Linked DNA regions of Homo sapiens: region 2 is linked to region 1. The links are contacts of gene promoters, found by promoter capture Hi-C in blood cells and fetal thymus (Javierre and others, 2016). All regions are on one chromosome and are shown on one strand. Each heading gives the region's core, a stretch centred on a gene start or on the middle of the fragment in contact. The rest is flanking DNA. Distances are from core to core; before and after follow the strand shown. Region 1 holds the start of FOXA1 (forkhead box A1). Region 2 overlaps MIPOL1 (mirror-image polydactyly 1).

Evidence for each region. Contacts are between HindIII fragments. The CHiCAGO score rates a contact against its expected background, and 5 or more counts as called.
Region 2: a fragment that was not itself captured here is called in contact with the fragment with the promoter of FOXA1 in region 1 in 1 of 17 cell types (megakaryocytes); the score reaches 5.1 in megakaryocytes.

What each region holds. Positions count from the first base shown.
Region 1 is chr14:37,593,130-37,597,289 of GRCh38, reverse strand. It overlaps FOXA1 (forkhead box A1), which reads left to right and starts at 2,041. Exons shown (of 2, transcript NM_004496.5): 1 at 2,041-2,389. The coding sequence starts at 2,318. It overlaps TTC6 (tetratricopeptide repeat domain 6), which reads right to left and starts at 1,661. Exons shown (of 33, transcript NM_001310135.5): 1 at 1,282-1,661. RefSeq lists enhancers at 533-1,732, 1,246-2,105. The HindIII fragment of the contact is 10,101 bases long and covers 1-4,160 here.
Region 2 is chr14:37,225,217-37,228,948 of GRCh38, reverse strand. The region is part of intron 1 of MIPOL1 (mirror-image polydactyly 1); the gene reads right to left. Among named protein-coding and RNA genes, the nearest start is that of MIPOL1, 29 kb to the right of the region's middle. The HindIII fragment of the contact is 7,955 bases long and covers 1-3,732 here.

The DNA.
Region 1 (4,160 bases), core at 792-3,291:
AGTCCCCCGGATCAGGCCCAGGAAGCTAAGCATCCGTATACTTTACAAATGGAACTAAAGTCAGCTACTAATGGGAACTTTGCACAAAAGAATTAGTTTCTGACACACAATTCGCAGATACATTTACACAAACTGATGGGACAACTTGCAGTCACAGGAGCAGGCTGCATTAGGGAGGGTTCCTGCCCTACTGAGTTCCAGGTGGATTTAATTTCACTCATTCCTTTCCTTATGATGTGACGTTTCTACCCCCCCACCCTTTTTGTAAAAAAAAAAAAAAAAAATGTAATCCAATGCTTTTATCTTTTTTTATTTCCTTAACTGCACATCTTCACCCTCTCTGCTCCCCTGCTGACTTAAGAGATTTGTTTGGTTCAGGGATTTAAAGTGATTCTCTTGCCAGATTTCAAGTAAAAGAGATTTAAAAGAACAAAGCACAGGGAAAAAGGTATCTGTTTGGAAGACAAGTTAAAACACATTTCTTAAAATGAGATTAATAACATTTTAAAAACTTTGCAAAACAAGAAGATTTTGCGGATTCTTAATTACTTTAGATTTTATTTTATTGTTACTTAAGGAAACCTAGTGGTTCTACAGGCAGTACAACAAACACATGGTCACAGACACTCAGAAACACACACAGTCACACATGCTCAGAAATATACAAACGGTCACACACTCAAAACACACGCACCATCTCCCAATCTATCACCAACTAATTGCCTATCACCCGGTCACTTCAGTTGTTCTCTCTCCCAGGACAAGTGGGCAACCACCACCCAGGGCCTCATGAGAGTAAAGAGACTTTGCGTTGGGAAGACTCTCCCACCGACGTCCAGGACCGATTAGGAACCAAGCGAGCCCCTGAGATCTCAGCCCGGACCCTCCGGGTCACAGACAGGACCAAGCGCCGCTGCGGGCAGTCTCGGGCTTCTGCCTGGCATCTCTTTCGCAGTGCAGATGCGTTCCCGCGCCCAGGCCCTTGCTCTCCCAGCTAACGCGCGTGTTATGGGAGATGTCCCCTCCCCCTGACCTTTTCCTATCAGAAACCAGACGGTCGTCTCCAGCTCACTCCCTGAAGCGGCTGAAGGGGGGCGGGAGGAGGAGCCCGGCAGGGGGAGGACGGCCCGACTTGGGTCCGCCTGCCCTATCACACAGACATCTGCTCTCAGTTTCTTCCTCTTTGTGGTCGCTACAGATGACAAGGGGAGAGGAGCGGACCGAGGCGGAACAAAAAAAAAAAGTTATGTCATAAAGATATAAACCGGTGCTGTGACTCACCTGCTCTTAGCCGCAGGTACGAGTTTCGTGGCAGCGCCTCCGCTCTGCTAGCCCGGGGCCCGGGTCGGCCTAACGTCACTTGGCTCGGCTGACTCAGATGACCCGGTTTCTAGTGACGAAGCAAAAGTGGGGCTTTTTCCCTTTTCTAGTCTGAAGCTCTCAGGAGGAAAGAAAAAAAAAAGTCTGTATTCTCCAGTCTCCCGGGGTTGAACTTTGGGTCAGGAATCAGGAGGGAGGAAGCAAAGAGCAGGAGGGGCGCGAGACTGGGCCGCAGCCCGCGCTCGGAAGGTGGCGTGTACCTCTGGGGAGGGACCCCGGGGTCAGTTATCCCACAAGGTCTCTAAGCCCAGTCTCCGACGCCACCGCCCCCGGCCTTCTCCGGCTGCGAGGTTCCGATCCAGAGCCCTAGCCCGCCCGCCCGCCTGGCCCCGCCTATTTTTTCTTTTTCCAAAGGGGGTTACACCCCCTCCCTCCCCATTTCCCTCTTTCCCTAGCCTCCGGGCCTAAACCAATTACACTGCTTTGCAAACAAAGTGAGGGCCCCGCTTGGGGGAGGGGTCGCGGGGGAGGGGTCGCGCGCAGCGGTGAAGCGGCGGGGCGGGAGGCGCGGCGGCCGGACTGGCGGGCGGCCGCCTTGCAGGTGCACCTCGGGCTTTGTAGGTGCGAGCGTCTTTGTGCGGCGGACAAATGGGGAGAGGACGAGGAGGTGGGCACTCAAGCGACGTAAGATCCACATCAGCTCAACTGCACTTGCCTCGCAGAGGCAGCCCGCTCACTTCCCGCGGAGGCGCTCCCCGGCGCCGCGCTCCGCGGCAGCCGCCTGCCCCCGGCGCTGCCCCCGCCCGCCGCGCCGCCGCCGCCGCCGCGCACGCCGCGCCCCGCAGCTCTGGGCTTCCTCTTCGCCCGGGTGGCGTTGGGCCCGCGCGGGCGCTCGGGTGACTGCAGCTGCTCAGCTCCCCTCCCCCGCCCCGCGCCGCGCGGCCGCCCGTCGCTTCGCACAGGGCTGGATGGTTGTATTGGGCAGGGTGGCTCCAGGATGTTAGGAACTGTGAAGATGGAAGGGCATGAAACCAGCGACTGGAACAGCTACTACGCAGACACGCAGGAGGTGAGAGGCAAGGCGAGGCGGGCGGCCGGTGGGGCGCCGCTGGAGCCCGTGCCGGGGGAGGCCGGGGAGCGGTGGGCGCCAGGCAAGGCAGGCAGGCGGGCCGGGGGCGCCTTCTCGGTGCCACCGCTGCCCGCCCGCCGGTGTGGCCCCGGCCGGGCCTTGGCCGGGCCTGGAAGCGGGACCTGCTGCCCTGCTCTGTCCCGACTCTCGCAGCCGGAGAGGGAGTTTTAGGAAACTCCGGGCTTTGAAAACAGCGGCTCTAGGAAGCGCTTGCCTCTTCCCAGCAGCGAGCGGGAGCAGGAGCCGGGCCCGGGGTGCAGCGGGCGGGCGAGCGCCGGTGCGAGTTGGAAGCAACTCTGAGAAAGCCGGAGCATACCCACAAGGCGACCTCTTCGTCCCACCGTTTAATTCGCAGACGTCTTCTGATTAAAGCGCTCTGCCGCCAAGTTGGGTGTCTCAATAATGAAACGATTTCTAAATTTTGTAAAACTTGTTCTTCAAAAGCCCTATTTGGGGAGAAGTGTGCTCCTTCTCTAAAACCGCTGGGTGGCGCTAGTGCGACCAAAATCTTCTTCACAACTCTGGGCCGAGAACCTGTTTCTCTTCATTGTCCCCTTGGTGGCACGTTCATGGGGGTTATTTTTACAATGTGCACAAAAGGATTACAGGGAAAACCAGTTACAGGGAGGACTACCACCTATTAAAAGTATTTTTCTGGAAACAGCTGGCGATTACCCTCCAAAAGTTTAATTACCATTATTGAAAACGCGTATTGGAACTGCCTTGGATAATCTTGGGAAGAGGGAAAGAAAATAAAGCCCCAAGGTAAAAAATACTTTTAAGACGTGGACAGAAAAATATAGGATCACGTAATATTTTGATGGTAACTGACTTATTTAGATTTATGTATTCACAAGTTTACCTCTGAGTTTATTTGCATACCATAGTTTACTGGGTGTTCCTATTTAAATCTATTTGTTCTCATATTTTCAAATTGAGTCATACTTGCTGATTAAAATAAACTTAAGGACATCATTATTCCTTATTAAATTACCAGAGGAGTGCTTTTTAATATGCCTAGGTTTTGTATGTTTAAAATACTGTACCTAATGCATTCCCACATCGCTATTGATAAGGATTTTCGCTTGTTGATGATTTTAAAAGGAGCTCAGAGGTCTTCCAGAGATTTAATTCTGACGCAGTCATCTCGACCCCACCATTCAATTAAGACCCCTAGCGAAAGTACTTTCTTACATGTTAAAGCTGAGAATTAGGAAATACAATAGCATTAAGAGAAAATAAGTAGAATTTGATTTTCGAATTTTAAATTATTCAAGACTACTCACGGAATCTCAAAGCCAGGCGTTGAAATCATCGGCAGCAACATCAGCATGTGAAAAAAAAAAAAGATTTATTTTGACAAACTGTGTCACCAAATTTTTCAAACAGGGGACTGTAAAGTGGTGACAAAATTAATGCGAGTTTCTAAATAGCTTGCAAAGGTGTACATGTAAAGTCATGTTAAAATAAAATGCATATAGCACTTTGAGATTATTATAGCACCCCCTCCCAGCCCTTTCTGTTATGGATCTACTTTTAGTTTTATTTTTCCAAAACTTATTTAACTCTGAGTTTGCTTCCCTTTTAACATTACAGTTGCTACAAGCAGGTAGAAAACACTACTTCTAAATACAATAAACAACAAAAAGTCACCATAGGCAAAAACCCCTAGGACAATAAAGCCACTTGTTGGGAAACAGATGATTCAGGG
Region 2 (3,732 bases), core at 926-3,425, 370 kb after region 1:
AATCAAATCTATTCATTTATTTAGAGACAGGGTCTCACTATGCTGACAAGGCTGGTCTCAAACTCCTGGCCTCAAGCAATTCTCCCGCCTTGTCCTCCCAAAGTGCTGGGATTACAAGTATGAGCCACTGTGCCTGGCCACAAATTGTTTTCAGTATTTCTTCTTTTGGGTGCCTTGCAACACTAATTACACACGAAAAATGTGAAGCAAAGTATTTTTGATAAGTTGATTTTTTAATTATTGTTTCAGACCTTTAACCCAACCTGAAGAGAGAAGATAAAGATAGTATCAGTGGTTGAAAGAAAGATAATTTGCTTCCTAAAGAAAGAACTACATTTCATAGGTAACCCAATACAAAGTTTTCTGCTATTCTCTGGGTCATGGTGCCATCATGTCACTACCATCATCCCTAGACCCTAGCAATAAACTGTTTGTTCTATTTACGAGGACAAGAAACTAAACGGTTTTTTAGGTAAGGTAAGGTTGGAGTTTTTGTCCTAAAAATGTTTTAATCAGAAGTCAGGAAGGTGTCCAGTTCCCCTTAAGACAATGAACTGCAAAAGGCTGTCAGTTCTCTTCCCCAAAATCCACCTGGAACTACTAAAAAAAAAAAAAAAAAAAAAGAAAAGAAAGAAATCATTGACCTGAGGAACCAACCAAAAACTTCAAGAAATCTGTGTCAACTGTCTTGAAATAGGGTTGGGGGCCACCTCAGGTGAAAGGTAGACACTGGTGATGCTGAAAGAATAGGTGAGAGAAAAATGTGTAATGTGTATGGTTCTTAAGTCCCTGATGTTGCCTTAGGTCAATCATTGTCTGTCCCACCAATACAGAAATCCACAGCAATAGCCCAAGCAGCAAGTGCCAAATGGTACTGTCAAGGCAGGGTAAAAATCTTGCTGGAGTAATGAAAAGAGATGAGATCTAACCATCATTTCCTCTTCTACTCTATCCCTTTCCAAATCCCCATCCTAGTTGGATTATAACCATAGCAGTTCCTATTAAATGTGCAGGAAAATCATATTTCCTAGCCTTATTTATATTTTGGTCACTTGAATTGTAGACAAAGTAGTGTGGGCAGATGTGATACAAGCGAATTTCAGGACTTACCATTAAAGGCATTCTATGAGCTCCTTTAGCCTTCTCTTCTCCCACAACAACCTTGAGAACCTTGCGATGGTGGCATCACAAGATAGAAGGAGCTTTAATCTCTAAGCCAAACTCTGTATGAGTGAAACACCAAAAATTATTTGGGTGTTATAAGTGCAAGATAGTCTCTCCTATCCTGGTACACAACTTAAAGAGATTGCCAGCCTACTTCCCTCAATGCTGACTAAAGGAGTTCCTTGTTGCAATAACAACAAATGTCAACAGTGATTCTGTGGTGCCTGAGACTCAATAACCTCCAGCTCACCCCACTTCCACTTGTGAAAATACACACACACATACACACACACAAACACACACACCACACACTTCATGTTTTAGACCTTGGATGTGTCTCTGTTCTGCTGCACCACCATTTCCAAACCCCAGATATGAGGAGAGATAGTATACAATGACTCTGTATAGGTTAAATAATTAACTACACTTAAAAAAATTCAAATTATTGAATACATGAATAGACTATACAGTGTTAATTGATCACCTCTTTGGGGGAAATGCACCATTTCATTTGAACAGCAAGCAGTCTCTAAGAAGCAGGAAAAGGCAAGAAATAGATTCTCCCTAAGAGATGCTAAAAATCCCCAGCCCTACTGCCATTTTCATTTTAGCCCAGTGAAAATTATTTCACATTACTGACCTCCAGAACCGTAAGATAATAAATTTGTGTTGTTTTAAGCCACCCAATTAGTGATTTTTTACAGCTGTTACAGCAGCAGTAGGAAACTAATACATATGCCTTATGAGTTCCCTAGCTCTCACAGCACCTCATATATTCAGAGACATTTTCAGCTTCTTACAAAACAAATTCAAAAGAGGCAGCATCACAGTCAAGAATTAACTGGACACTGAATTCTTAATAATCAGGAAGCTGCCAAAAATCTTATCTCCAAACTCCCAAGGAGTATTTCTCACACTACCCAGAAAGGAGTCCTAAGCCAGCATGTTAGCTGAAAGGTAAAACACTTTCCCTTTTTTTTTGAAATAGGATCTCACTCCACTGCCCAGGCTGGTGTGCAGTAGTGCAACCATGGCTCACTGCAGTCTTGAACTCCCAGGCTCAAGCAATCCTCCCATCTCAGCCTCCTGAGTTACTGGGACTAAAGGCATGCATGCACCACCACACCCAGTGATATGGTTTTGCTGTGTCCCCACCCAAAAGTCATCTTGAATTGTAGCTCCGATAATTCCCTCATGTTGTGGGAGGGACCCAGTGGGAGAAAATCGAATCGTGGGGGTGGTTTCCCCCATACTGTTCTCGTGGTAGTGAATAAGTCTCATGAGATCTGATGGTTCTATAAGGGGGAACCCCTATTGCTTGGCTCTCACTGTCTTCTCTTGTCTGCTGCCTTGTGAGACGTGCCTTTCATCTTCTACCATGATTGTGAGGCCTCTCCATCCACGTAGAACTGTGAGTCCACCACATGGAACTGTGAATCCATTAAACCTCTTTCTTTTGTAAATTGCCCAGTCTTGGGTGTGCCTTTATCAGCAGCATGAAAGCAGACTAATACAGCAAATTACTACCAGCAGAGTGGGGTGCTGCTGTGGATACCCAAAAATGTGGAATCAACTTTGGAACTGGGTAATACTCAGGGGTTGGAACAGTTTGCAGGGGTCAGAAGAAGACAGGAAAATGTGGGAAAGTTTTGAGCTTCCTAGAGACTTGTTGAATGGCTTTGCCCAAAATGCTGACAGCAATATGGACAATAAAGTCCAGGCTTAGGTGGTCTCAGATGGAAATGAGAAACTTGTTGGGAACTGGAATAAAGGTGACTCTTGTTATGTTTTAGCAAGAGGCTAGAGGCATTTTGCCACTCCCTAGAGATTTGTGGAACTTTGAACTTGAGAGAGATGATTTAGGGTGTCTGGCGGAAGAAATTTCTCAACAGCAAAGCATTCGAGAGGTGACTTGGGTGCTGTTAAAGGCATTCAGTTTTATAAGGGAAGCAGAGCATAAAAGTTCAGACAATTTGCCGCCTGACCACATGATAGAAAAGAAAATCCCATTTTCTGAGGAGAAATTCAAGCCGACTGCATAAATTTGCATAAGTAATGAGGAGCCAAATATTAATCCCCAAGACAATGGGGAAAATGTCTCCAGGGTATGTCAGAGGTCTTCACAGCAGCTGCTCCCACTGCAGACCCGGAGGCCTATGAGGAAAAAGTGGGTCAGCCACAGGGGTCCTGTGCTGTGTGCAGCCTAGGGACTTGGTGCCCTGTGTCCCAGTTGCTCCAGCCATGGCTGAAAGGGGCCACCATAGAGCTCAGGCCATGGCTTCAGAGGGTGCAAGCCTCAAACCTTGGCAGCTTCCATGTGGTGTTGAGCCTGCAAGTGCATAGAAGTCAAGTATTGGGGTTTGGGAACCTCTGCCTAGATTTCAGAGGATGTACGGAAATGCCTGGATGTCCAGGCAGAAGTTTGCGGCAGGGTGGGGCCCTCATGGAGAACCTCTGCTAGGGCAGTGCAGAAGGGAAATGTGGGGTCAGAGCCCCCACACAAAGTTCCTACTGGGGCACCACCTTGTGGAGCTGTGAGAAAAGGGCCACCATCTTCTAGACCCTAAA